3 separate regions of the Homo sapiens genome follow, and all the other regions are linked to region 1. The links are contacts of gene promoters, found by promoter capture Hi-C in blood cells and fetal thymus (Javierre and others, 2016). All regions are on one chromosome and are shown on one strand. Each heading gives the region's core, a stretch centred on a gene start or on the middle of the fragment in contact. The rest is flanking DNA. Distances are from core to core; before and after follow the strand shown. Region 1 holds the start of KLF13 (KLF transcription factor 13). Region 2 has its middle 35 kb from the start of TRPM1. Region 3 overlaps OTUD7A (OTU deubiquitinase 7A).

Evidence for each region. The method cuts DNA at HindIII sites, captures the fragments that hold promoters and counts their contacts. A CHiCAGO score of 5 or more calls a contact.
Region 2: a contact is called between a fragment that was not itself captured here and the fragment with the promoter of KLF13 in region 1, in 1 of 17 cell types (M2 macrophages). The highest score is 6.3, in M2 macrophages.
Region 3: a contact is called between a fragment that was not itself captured here and the fragment with the promoter of KLF13 in region 1, in 1 of 17 cell types (total CD8 T cells). The highest score is 5.5, in total CD8 T cells.

What each region holds. Positions count from the first base shown.
Region 1 is chr15:31,325,165-31,329,015 of GRCh38, forward strand. KLF13 (KLF transcription factor 13) reads left to right here and starts at 1,671. Exons shown (of 2, transcript NM_015995.4): 1 at 1,671-2,625. The coding sequence starts at 2,049. RefSeq lists a promoter at 796-1,852 and an enhancer at 880-1,393. The HindIII fragment of the contact is 12,301 bases long and covers 1-3,851 here.
Region 2 is chr15:31,134,372-31,138,222 of GRCh38, forward strand. It overlaps a transcript of TRPM1 not described here. Among named protein-coding and RNA genes, the nearest start is that of TRPM1, 35 kb to the left of the region's middle. The HindIII fragment of the contact is 3,931 bases long and covers 30-3,851 here.
Region 3 is chr15:31,505,172-31,509,022 of GRCh38, forward strand. The region is part of intron 8 of OTUD7A (OTU deubiquitinase 7A); the gene reads right to left. Among named protein-coding and RNA genes, the nearest start is that of KLF13, 180 kb to the left of the region's middle. The HindIII fragment of the contact is 1,408 bases long and covers 1,073-2,480 here.

The DNA.
Region 1 (3,851 bases), core at 421-2,920:
ACGATTACTTTCTACCAAGCACAGACCCTCCTAAAGGGACCAGACCCAGTCCAGCACCTTTAGTCTCCCCAGAGGGTAGCAACTCAATCAGCGAGACCGCATTTCAGGGTTTTAGTTACAGATACTGAGGGTGCTCAAACATCCATGCAGTTTGCTGTTCACCGTAACACGCAACCCAGAATGGCCGTTTCGGTCCCTCGTCGGTTACCTGAAAACCAGTCTTACTGAGCTCCAACCCCAAATTAATTTGGTGAGAACTCGAACTCGGCTATTAACCTTAATTCTGAGAGAAGAATGACACCCCCCTCCCACTGCGAGGGTCCACTGAGGGTGAGTGCCCGGGCTCCTTCATTCTCCAGGCTCCTCTCAGAACACAGCAAGGGTGGCTGACTCCTTCGAACGTCCATTAAGCACAATGCAACGGGGCGAGGCAGTAGGGGGTTTGCTGAGCCCGGTTCCGCGGCGGTGGGAAGTTATTCACCGGCGTCTCCGAGGACGGCCCAGGCCTGGAGAATGGCTGGGGCCGCGGGCTGGGGTAGGGGTTACCGTGAGAGTCAAGGGCAAGGTGGCCCAGCCCGGGCTGGGAGGCGCGGGCTGGGCGCAGCCGAGCATTTCCTCCGGGAGGCCCAGACAGCGGGCGGGTGGGGCGCGGTGGGCGGGGTCCTCGCAGCTGGTGGCGTTTGAAGCCCCCCCGACCGCGGTGGGAGAGGGGCAGCCTAGAAGAGTTGGCAGCGGGCCTGCGGCGGGATGGGGAGGAAGGGGCCCCGCGTTCCCTCAGCAGCGGCGCCGGCCGCCCTGGCACGTAGTTCGCTTCTGGAGGCACAGGCCGCGGTGGGCGCGCCACCCGGGCTGCCAGGCTCACCGCCAGCCGAGGCCAGTCCTGCTCGGGCTGACCCGAGCTGAAGGGCAGCGCGGCCGCACCCCGGACCCCAGGAACGAGCCCGAGTCTGTCCCTCCCGCGGGAGCTGCCCCGCCCGGACTCCCGGAGCTCTGCAAGGCAGGGGCGTGGGGAGGGCGAGCGGCCTGAGGCTCTAGGCGCGGCCACCCGGCAAGCCGGCGGCGGAGGGCGCGGCGCGAGTGCGTTCCGCCCCTAGGCAGCCCCGCGCCCGGCCGGGCAGACACGCCTCCCCGCCGGCGCCCATCGCGGGAGGAACAAATGGCGCCCTCCAGAAACCGCTCCCCTCCATGCCGGGGGCCAAGGCTGTCACCACATAAAAGCTCCGGCAGAGAAGTGCTCGCTGTGTCCCCGCCGCGGGGGGTACAAGCAGCCGCTCCGCGCCGCGACTACCCGGCCCGCCGCCCCCGGACGTCATGCGTCAGCGCGCCCCGCTCCAGTTTCCGCCCCTCCTCCCACCGGCCCAGGGGACACGCCCACTGGCGCGCGCAGGGCCCGGGACCGGGCACGCCCCTCTAACGGCTCGGATTGGCCTGGCCGTGCACTCACGGACCAATGGCGTCTGTCCCGGCCCTCGGTCACGCCCCCTTGCCCAGGCGCGGGCACGCGACCGCTCCGTTCCGCCGGTGCGCGCTCTGGGGTCCCCGCCCCCTCCGCGCGCGCAGCTCCCCGCAGCCGCCGCCGCCTGTAACCTGCGCCGCCAGGATGTGGCTGGGGGCTGACGTCGGGTCCAGATGTGGCCCCGGCCCCGCCCACCCCCGGGGCCGGGCCGCCCACACGGAGCCGCGGCGCGCACGGCAGCTGTCCCGCCTGCCACAATGCGCGGCGAAGCTGCGGCCGCGACTTGGCGAGGTGGTCCCTAACGTTGCCGCTCGGCATCCTTAGAACCGGCCGCCCCTGACGCCGCGCGGGGACCCCAGTCGCCCGCGCGCCCCATGCGCTCACTCTTCGGTGCCCGGCCGGGCCGGCGCCTCGCAGACGCGGAGCCGCGCGGGTGACGGCACAGGCGGCTGCGCGCCCAGCCCAGCCCAGCCCAGCCCGAGGAGAGGGCGCGCCGCGCCCCCGCCCCCCGCCCGCTCTCCCGAGGCCGTGGGTGCGGATGCGCGGCTGACGACTCGCAGCAAGAGCACCGCCGCCGGCCCCAGCCCGCAGCATGGCAGCCGCCGCCTATGTGGACCACTTCGCCGCCGAGTGCCTCGTGTCCATGTCGAGCCGCGCGGTCGTGCACGGGCCGCGGGAGGGGCCGGAGTCCCGGCCCGAGGGCGCGGCCGTGGCCGCCACCCCCACGCTGCCCCGCGTCGAGGAGCGCCGCGACGGTAAGGACAGCGCCTCGCTCTTCGTGGTGGCGCGGATCCTAGCGGACCTCAACCAGCAAGCGCCGGCGCCCGCCCCGGCGGAGCGCAGGGAGGGCGCCGCGGCCCGGAAGGCGAGGACCCCCTGCCGCCTGCCGCCGCCCGCCCCCGAGCCCACCTCCCCCGGCGCCGAAGGCGCGGCGGCCGCGCCCCCCAGCCCGGCGTGGAGCGAGCCGGAGCCCGAGGCGGGGCTGGAGCCCGAGCGGGAGCCGGGGCCCGCGGGGAGCGGCGAGCCCGGCCTCAGACAAAGGGTCCGGCGGGGCCGAAGTCGCGCCGACCTCGAGTCCCCGCAGAGGAAGCACAAGTGCCACTACGCGGGCTGCGAGAAAGTTTACGGGAAATCTTCGCACCTCAAGGCGCACCTGAGAACTCACACAGGTCAGTGGGGCGGCGCGGGCGCCCGGATCGCGCGGACGGGGTCGGCGCGAGCTGCCCGACCACGCCCCCGGAGTCCCCGATGGGGCGCGAGGTGGGGGCCGGGCGGGCCGGAACGCCCGGGGCCTCGCCCCTTCCCCTGCCGCTCCGACCCGCGGCTGGCCCCGCGCGTCGCGCGAGGCGGGTCTTGGCTCTCGGAGCCGGCGCCCGCCAGGCGACCGCGCCCCCGCCGGGCACGCCCCCTCCCCGGGCGCGCTCGGGTGGGGCCGCGGGGGCGGATATAGTCATCTGGGCTGGGGGCGGGGACCCCTCCCGGCCGGGAGGCGGCGCGGGCAGGTGCGGGCGGCCTGGGTGTGGACCGCAGGCGGCACTCGTGACGGTGGGGCGCCCGGAGCGGGGGCAGGGGACGCTCTCCGGGGTCCCTCCTCGTTTCCTCCCCCGCTGCCCGGGCGCGCGCTCAGGAGGGGAGGGGCCGGCCCCGGCGCGCGGCGGGCGAAGTTCACGCAGGGACAAGGTTTCCTTCGCCACTCGGCACATTCTTCGCTCTCTTCTTCCTGTAATTTTTCCAGCGCTCTAAGGTTTAATTTGTCGTAACCAAAGTCAGCGGCGGCGCTTGGCGATGCGGGGGGCGGTCCCGGGTCCCGCTCCCCGCCTGCGGCTCTTTGTGGGAGCCCCCGCCCATCCGGCCCGGCGGGGGCGCGCCCGGCCCTAGGCTCCTCGGCCTCGAGGCTCTCTCCGGAAAGGAATGCCCTGGCCGCTGCCCATCCTCCGTGCTGCCCTCTCGCCTGCCCACCTCTCACCTGCCCTGGGCCGGTGCGGGGCGGGCGGCACCTGCACCAGGGCGGGCGCTGAGCCTCCAGCCTGGGGATCACCGCCCGCCCCCGCCAGCCCAGCGGCAACAGTTCCCACGCGCGGCCCGATACTTTGTAGTTGATTCATCTGTGGCGGTTCCCTCCCCCCTTTTTGTTTCGTTTTTAACATAAAGATGAAAATATTTTAATGGACGGCAATCCTTCCCCATTTTGGTGTAAAGAATTGTATGCTTCCTCTGAGCTCACGTGAGTTCTTCTGTGACACTCACCTCTTCTACCTTGGGGGCAGGCTCAAAACCCGTCTACTGAATACTGTTGTCTTGTGACCAAGGGTGGTGGTCTCTCATTTGTAAAATAGTTCACATAGTGATTAAAAGGCATAAAAAGAAGCTGCAGCCTTGGATACCCTAGAGCTGA
Region 2 (3,851 bases), core at 745-3,244, 190 kb before region 1:
CTATTTCAAGAAACTGCAGGCACAGGGAAAGCTTTGAAAAACACCATAGAAGTTACCCTTTTGCAAGGGAAATTTAAATCTATAAAGGAAATCTCCATTTGTAAAGGTGTCTGCCTCTCTGCACCAGGAAAAGAAGAGTGACTAAATCACCAGAGACTCAGTCAAGGCAGAAGGCACCAACTTCAATCTGTGTAACAAACCTAACCTCTGGTTTTCCAGTGATTTTCCTGGGCCATCTCATTTTAACCAAGTCTTTCCCCACACCCATCCTTCTTGGTTTCAGAAAAAGTTGGTATTTAAACCTGAAGTCTAAGACCACTCTTTGAGATCTACTAAAGAGACTGACTCGGCTGGGCAAGGTGGCTCATACCTGTAATCCCAGCACTTTGGGAGGCCAAGGTGGGCAGATCACCTGTGGTCGGGAGTTTGAGACCAGCCTGACCAACATGGAGAAACCCCATCTCTACTAAAAATACAAAAAATTAGCTGGGTGTGGTGGCCCATGCCTGTAATCCCAGCTACTTGGGAGGCTGAGGCAGGAGAATCACTTGAATCTGGGAGGCAGCGGAGGTTGCAGTGAGCCAAGATCGTACTCCAGCCTGGGCAACAAGAGTGAAACTCCATCTCAAAAGGAAAAAAAAAAGAGATTGGCTCAACTCCCTGGTTATCCCCCATATATACAGGAAGGATACATATGATTAAACTTTTGTTTGTTTCTCTTGTTATCTGTCTTTTGTTACAAGAAGTCCCGGTAAGAACTCATGAAGGGTGAAGGAGAAAATTATTTTTCCTTCCCTATGATGCCATCTTTAGAAGTAAACACTGACGAAAACCCTAGATATGTGCACACATTCTGTATCCATACACATTACTACATGTGCACTCAAGCAGAGAATTATGGAAGGTTACACACCACCATAGCCAATATGGGCTTCCTAGGAAGAAAGGAGAAGGCCAAATAAAATAAACACCTTATTAAAATATTTCTAAACATCATCATGTTGAACATGATAAATGCATACAATTTTTACTTGTCAATTAAAAAAATTAAAAATAAATAAAATTTTTAAATTAAAAAAAGAGAATGATCCATCCTACCCAAGTACATGCATATGGATGAAATAATTAGAAATGCAAGATAGAATTAGATCTAAATCTACTAAGTTTGTAGGGATACCCATTGCTATAGTGTGGCTATTTTCCCCTCCAAATCTCATGCTGTAATTTTATCTCCAGTGTTGGAGGTGGGGCCTAGTGGGAGGTGTTTGCGTCATGGGGGCAGGTCCCTCAGGAGTATCTTGGTGCCGTCATCCTTGCAGTAATGAGTGAACTCTCACTCTGTTGGTTTCTACAACAGCGTATTGTGAAGAAGAGCCTGGCACCTCTCTCCTTTACTTCCTCTCTCGCCACATGATCTCTGCACACACCGGCTCCTCTTCCTCTTCCACCATGAGTGGAGGCAGCCTGAAGCCCTCACAGGAAGCAGACGCTGGCTCCATGCTTCCTATACAGCCTGCAGAACTGTGAGATTTCTTTATAAATTACCCAGCCTCAGGTATTCCTTTACAGTAATACAAAATGGACAAAGACACCCTTGAAAAAGTAAGTGGAGCAGTAATAAAGTTGCATAGTGATGAGAATTGTGTAATTTTAGTTCAGTAAAAACAAATCTGTCAACAAATCCCTGAACGTGTATAGGCGTTTTGGTCTGTGTGTGTAGAACTCCGAGGAAGGCGTGGCCATGGTCATGTTGGCCATCTCCTTCTTATCTCTGGGAGAGTGGGAGGAGGGGGTGGGAGGAGGTTGCAGCGCCTCCTCTGGATGGGTGGTAGGAATGGGGAGAGCATCGGATCCAGGCTCCATGGGGTCACCAAGGCAGCAGGAGGTGTCTGGAGGCGGAGACATTAGCTCTGTGTTTCCATGTGCCTGTCTCTCCCACACCAGCCCCTGCCGTGCTTGCTGTTTGAGCATGGGGACTCTTGTCTTCCACCACAAGGTGGATGTCACAGCACCATTTATAATCGGAAGGCATTTGTAGCACTTTATTGTTCAAACAAGCATCTCTTTCAAGCACATGGAATGCCATGTGTGGTAAATCCAGTTCCCACCCTCTACGAGGTAACTGATCTGCCATCATCACAGATTGGGTTAGGCTGCTACTGAAACAGACAATGTTGCCATTGTGGGGGCCAAGGCCCTAATTCACCAAATGGGCCACCTTCAGTCTTCAATCAGCATGATAATAAAGTTCCCTCTGTTTTAATCCTTAACCCGAACGAAGTTCCATCTCCCTGTCCTTGTCTCATAAGGAAAGTCACTTTGAAAAGACCAATCTGCTTTTTGCTGTTTGTTTCTGCTTTCCTCAGCCGCCCCCACCCTTTTTTTTTTTTTTGCCTATAAAGCCAACCTCCTCTGCTCAGCTCATTGGAACACTAATTCTTTTTTATGGAATAAAGTATTGCCCAATTCTAGAATTGCAAATAAAGCCAACTGAGGTATTTAAACTAAGTTTGCTGTAATTTCTTCTTTTGACAGATCTGGCAACCAAGGAAGGAACCTGAAAGAGAGAGATCTGACAACCCTGAGACCCCTGCAGGAGCACAGGGAAGGCCCTGCTCGCTCTACCTTTTGGGGAGGTCCCTGTCTTCCTCATGGAGTCCTGAGAAGTTCTGCTCTCTTTTGCATTAGTGCTCTCTGATATTTTTGGCATTTGGAGTACCAAGGTTAATTTGTGCTGTGGCAGGGCACACCACCTTTCGGTTTGCAGTGACTGAGGAGTCACTGTGGCAACAAAACTGTCATTTCTAAGGTAACTGATAACAGTGGCAGTAAGTGGTTATTACTGGAGGGATCCTCTTTATTTCTTCTCTTCTCAATGGTGAGGTCTCAGAGCAAAAGTCATCGTGGCTCTGAGATACCCAAGAGCCAACATAAACATGGGATCTCTAATTTCTAAAGATCTTAGTACTCTGCCTTCTGATATGCCTGCCTTTTTCATGGACAAGAATTATGGCCCCAGAAGCTGCAGATATTCTTAAAAGTGGCAAAGTCTTACTAAAGATAATTCAGAATGACAATGGCTGTTATATGGAATGTTCCAGGTGAACACAAAACTGGTTATCTAAGAAGTGCACTTGAGTCTCAAGCCCCTTGAATTAGGCAGGGAGAATGGGATTATTATTCTAACAGGCATTCAGAAGTCTCAAAGAGACAACAAGATTCTAAAATTGCTTTTTAAAAAATTCACTGTGAAGAGCTAATAAAAAGCTAAAAGTGCAAGGCATCACCCATACCAAGGACAGTAAAACTGACATGACCCCTACTGCTCCTCTCTATCCTATTTTGCCTAAATATTCACAATCTATTAACTTTCTGTCGGAATTGCCTATATTCTCAGAAGAAAACAGTTAAGCAGTTTTCTTATAAGAGAAAACCACCCCAAACTCCAGGAAATAATACTCAAGTGACTTATATTCCCTGGATAAAAATAGAGCTCAGAGCCATAGTTTAAAATTTTCCTAAACCTAGAAAAAACCTACGGAAGTTTTCTGAAGAATTTGGGATCTCAACTAGAACTTGTGACCCTGGGTTATCTGATCTCTACCAACTAACCCGCATGTGTGTGGGAACTGGGGAAGCCCAAACATGGAAGAAAGAGGCAGAATGATATTACCTCACAAGCCCTAACTTATGGGCCAAGCAAAGCCTGAAAAATGACCATTGAAAGCCATTCTTGAAGAGCCTCAGCTCCATGGCAACCAACAACCTAGGGTGGCCTTTGGGTCCCTGAAACAATGGTTTCCAGAAAATTGTTGTCATTGGTGCAAACAACCAGGGCACTGGAAAGGGGG
Region 3 (3,851 bases), core at 527-3,026, 180 kb after region 1:
TGGAATGGGATTTTACATTTTGTATTTGTTTTGATTGGTTAGTAACTTTGAATTTTTTAAAAGAGGCAAACGCAGAGGAGAATAAAGGAAGGAATGTTGAGAAAGGTAAAAATACTTTTAAATAAGGAAGAGGAACAGGATGTGACTTACTGCTTTCTTGGACTAGTATAAGTATGCTAGGGCAAATATTTAGGCTAAATTGTGGGAGCTAAGAATATAAAGTATACTGATTTTTTTATTATGGCTAGCAGATATTTAAGAATCTTAGCACAGGTCTTTGAATAAATTTTGCTTCTAAGAGAAGTTACTATTTATTTTTAATTAGATGGGGAGGAAAGGCTTTGAAGAGAAAACTCTATTTTACTTTTTACAATTCTCCCTCTTATAATTTTTTTTTAATTTGTCTGTTTTAATAGCTTTAAGAGAAGTAATTTTTCGAATAGGGTGGAGGAGAGTTAGGAGTTAACTTTGTAAGAGTGGTAGAGATAAGTTTTTGTATAAAATTTTGAAGGCAGGGAATAACATAATAGCTTATAAGTATATTAATAAGAGCGAACAAGGTGAGAATTGAAGTTAATTTTTTTTTTTTTTTTTTTGAGGTGGAGTCTCACTCTGTCGCCCAGGCTGGAGTGCAGTGGCATGATCTCGGCTCACTGCAAGCTCCACCTCCCGGGTTCACGCCATTCTCCTGCCTCAGCCTCCCTGGTAGCTGGGACTACAGGCGCCCGCCACCACGCCCGGCTAATTTTTTGTATTTTTAGTAGAGACGTGTTAGCCAGGATGGTCTTGATCTCCTGACCTCGTGATCCACCTGCCTCGGCCTCCCAAAGTGCTGGGATTACAGACGTGAGCCACCATGCCTGGCCACAATTTTTTTTTTTACTTATCGAATTAATGTTTTATTATTTTAGAAAAAGGGTTATTTATTTTAGAATTTTTGGCAAGTTTATTGGATAGTGCTGTTAATTTTTGTAGTGCTTTTGTTATAGTTTTGTTAGGGGCAGTATTAGGAATAAAGGTACAATATTGAGTTTTAATTATGACTTTTTTTTTTTGCTGATATTATATTTAAAGCTTTTTTTAAGGCAATTTGTCTGGTAGGTCCTAATTGCTTAGCTATTTTTTTGATGGCGTTTTCAGTGTAATTTATGAATTGTTGCTGATTGTAACAGATACAGTTTAGTTTACATTTTTTAAATTCATACTTACCAGAATAACGTGGACTTAAATTTTGCAGCTATTTGATTTTGTATTTTAAATTTATTTGAAATTTTTTTTACAGGATTTTAATAGCATTTATATAAACTTGAGGATTAAAGGACTTACAAGGAATTTTTTTTGGCCTGCGGTGTTTTGTTTTTATTTTTTTAGATTGATGAAATGCTAGAGTGAAGGACAGCTAACTGGATTAGTACTGTTTCAAATATTTGGCACAGCGTTTAGTAAAGGTCCTTTACAGTACTACCATATATTTGCTTGGGGATGGCTAAGCATGGATTGATGGGCGAGCTTTTGGAAAAAGCATTTTTTAAATGCTTTTAAGGAATATTAAATTTTTTTCTTGCCATGAGAGGCACAGTGTAAGTTTGGCATTTAGAAAAGGTGCAAGCTGGATTGTCCTCAGGGGCTGACCCGCACAGTGTTAAATTTTAGGAAATAGCAGAGAGAGCTTGGCATGATGGATTATTTTAAGCAGTGGGATTTTGAAAAAGAGCTACTATATAGTTTATATTTGGTTGATGAGGTGACCATTTAAGTGGAAAGGGGATAATTTGGGCCTCTGGAGTACCATGTGTACAAATGTAATAGTGTAATAATTGTTTTTAAAGTGTGAATGGAATATTTTAGCTAGGCATTTGTATTTTGATGTATTGTTTTGATGGCTAAGGTCTGTCTTTAATTTTTTATTTTTATAATAGGCATTCTACTTTTATTAGATGCAGGAGTAACTGGTGTCGGATTTAGAACTTAGGCTACTGAAGAAGGGGAAGATGGGGGAATAATGTGTATTTTAAAAATATTTAGGGTTTTTAAAAATTTATGTCAAATTTCTATATTATAGAAGTGATTAAGGGTAGGTTTAGAGTTAGTTAAGGTGGAGGTGGTGACAGAAGGACAGGGTTATATTGAGAAGGTTGGGTAGGTTTTTTAATGAAATAGATGAAGGGTTTTAGATCTGTATGTTTTTTTTGTGTGTGTGTGGAAGTTTAACTTTGCTCTTGAGTAATTTAAAGGACGTCGTTCCATTTATTATAAGGTTGTTAGGCTGTAGTGTATCCGGAGTTGGTTCCTTCCAGTGGCTTTGTGGTCTCACTGACTTCAAGAATGAAGTCGCGTGTTACACCTCTTAAGTGTGGCACGGACCCAAAGAGTGAGCAGCAGCAAGATTTATTGTGGAGAGAGAAAGAACAAAGGTTCTAAACCATGGAACAGGACCCGAGCAGGTTGCTGCCGCTGCTGGCTGGGGGGCGGGGGTGGCAAGCTTTTATTCCCTTATTGGCCCCTCCCATGTTCCATTTCTGTCCTATCAGAATGTCCTTTTTTCAATCTTCCCTGTCACTGGCTACTTTTAGGATTCTGCTGATTGGTGCGTTTTACAGAGCACTGATTGGTGTGTTTTACAGTCCTAGCTACAGAGTGCTGATTGGTGCATTTTACAATCCTCTTGTAAGACAGAAAAGTTCTCCAAGTCCCCACTCAACCCAGGAAGTCCAGCTGGCTTCACCTCTCAGTAGGAGCAGAAAATTGGCGTTTTGGCTGCAGGTGATTATAACAATAAGTGTTAGGGGTAATTGTGTTAATTAGAGGGCCAGGACATAAATATTTGTGTGAAAAGGCTAGCTGTCATTGATTTTTTAATATTTTTACAAGGTATGATAGAGCAAGCATTAAAGGCAATGGTTTGAGGTGAGTTAGATTTAGTTACATTAATAACAAGGGAGCTATAACAGAATAAGGAAAGGAAAGGAAGTAATAGAGAAAGTATATGAAAATTAAGCTTTTTAAAATTTTAACTTAGTAGGGCTTGATTTTAGTATAGTAACCTAAGATGTTTTCTTGATTTGAGTATAGTGGGTCCTTTTTTTCTTGGCTGTGTGGACAGGGGTCTTAGTGGTTAACAGCATAAAATAGGGTCCTTCCCAGGCTGGCTTGAGTTTTTTATTTTTTGATAAGGATGTGTTTTTGTTTTGTTTTGAGACGGAGTCTTGCTCTGTCACCCAGGCTGGAGTGCAGTGGCGCCGATCTCCGCTCACTGCAAGCTCCGCCTCCTGGGTTCACACCATTCTCCCGCCTCAGCCTCCCCAGTAGCTGGGACTACAGGCGCCCGCCACCACGCTCGGCTAATTTCTTTTTGTATTTTTAGTAGAGACGGGGTTTCACTGTGTTAGCCAGGATGGTCTTGATCTCCTGACCTCATGATCCGCCTGCCTCAGCCTCTCAAAGTGCTGGGATTACAGGCGTGAGGCACTGCGCCAGGCAAGAATGTGGTTTGTAGGCTGGTGCTGATGTACTAGAAATTTTAGGGTTGGTACCTGTGTTAAAAGATTTTTAGTTTTGAGGAAAGGGAAAGTGGAAGATAAATTACGTATATAATTTTTGTTGCGTATTCTGGGGCTTGAGGCCCCATGGTGACGTCTTCTGCTCCATTTCTGCTTAGCGTTGCCTAGGGGACATTGTGGCCCTGCCCCCTCTTAAGGTCTTGGCTTTTTTGTGGCCTTCACCGCCCCTGCGCGTTGTGGCCTTGGGGATGAGGGGCCTTGTGACTTATTCGGCCGCCCTCGGGCTTTGAGAAAGTTAAGCACTATTTTATATTTGATAATGCTTTTTGTATGATTTTATGTTTTTTAACA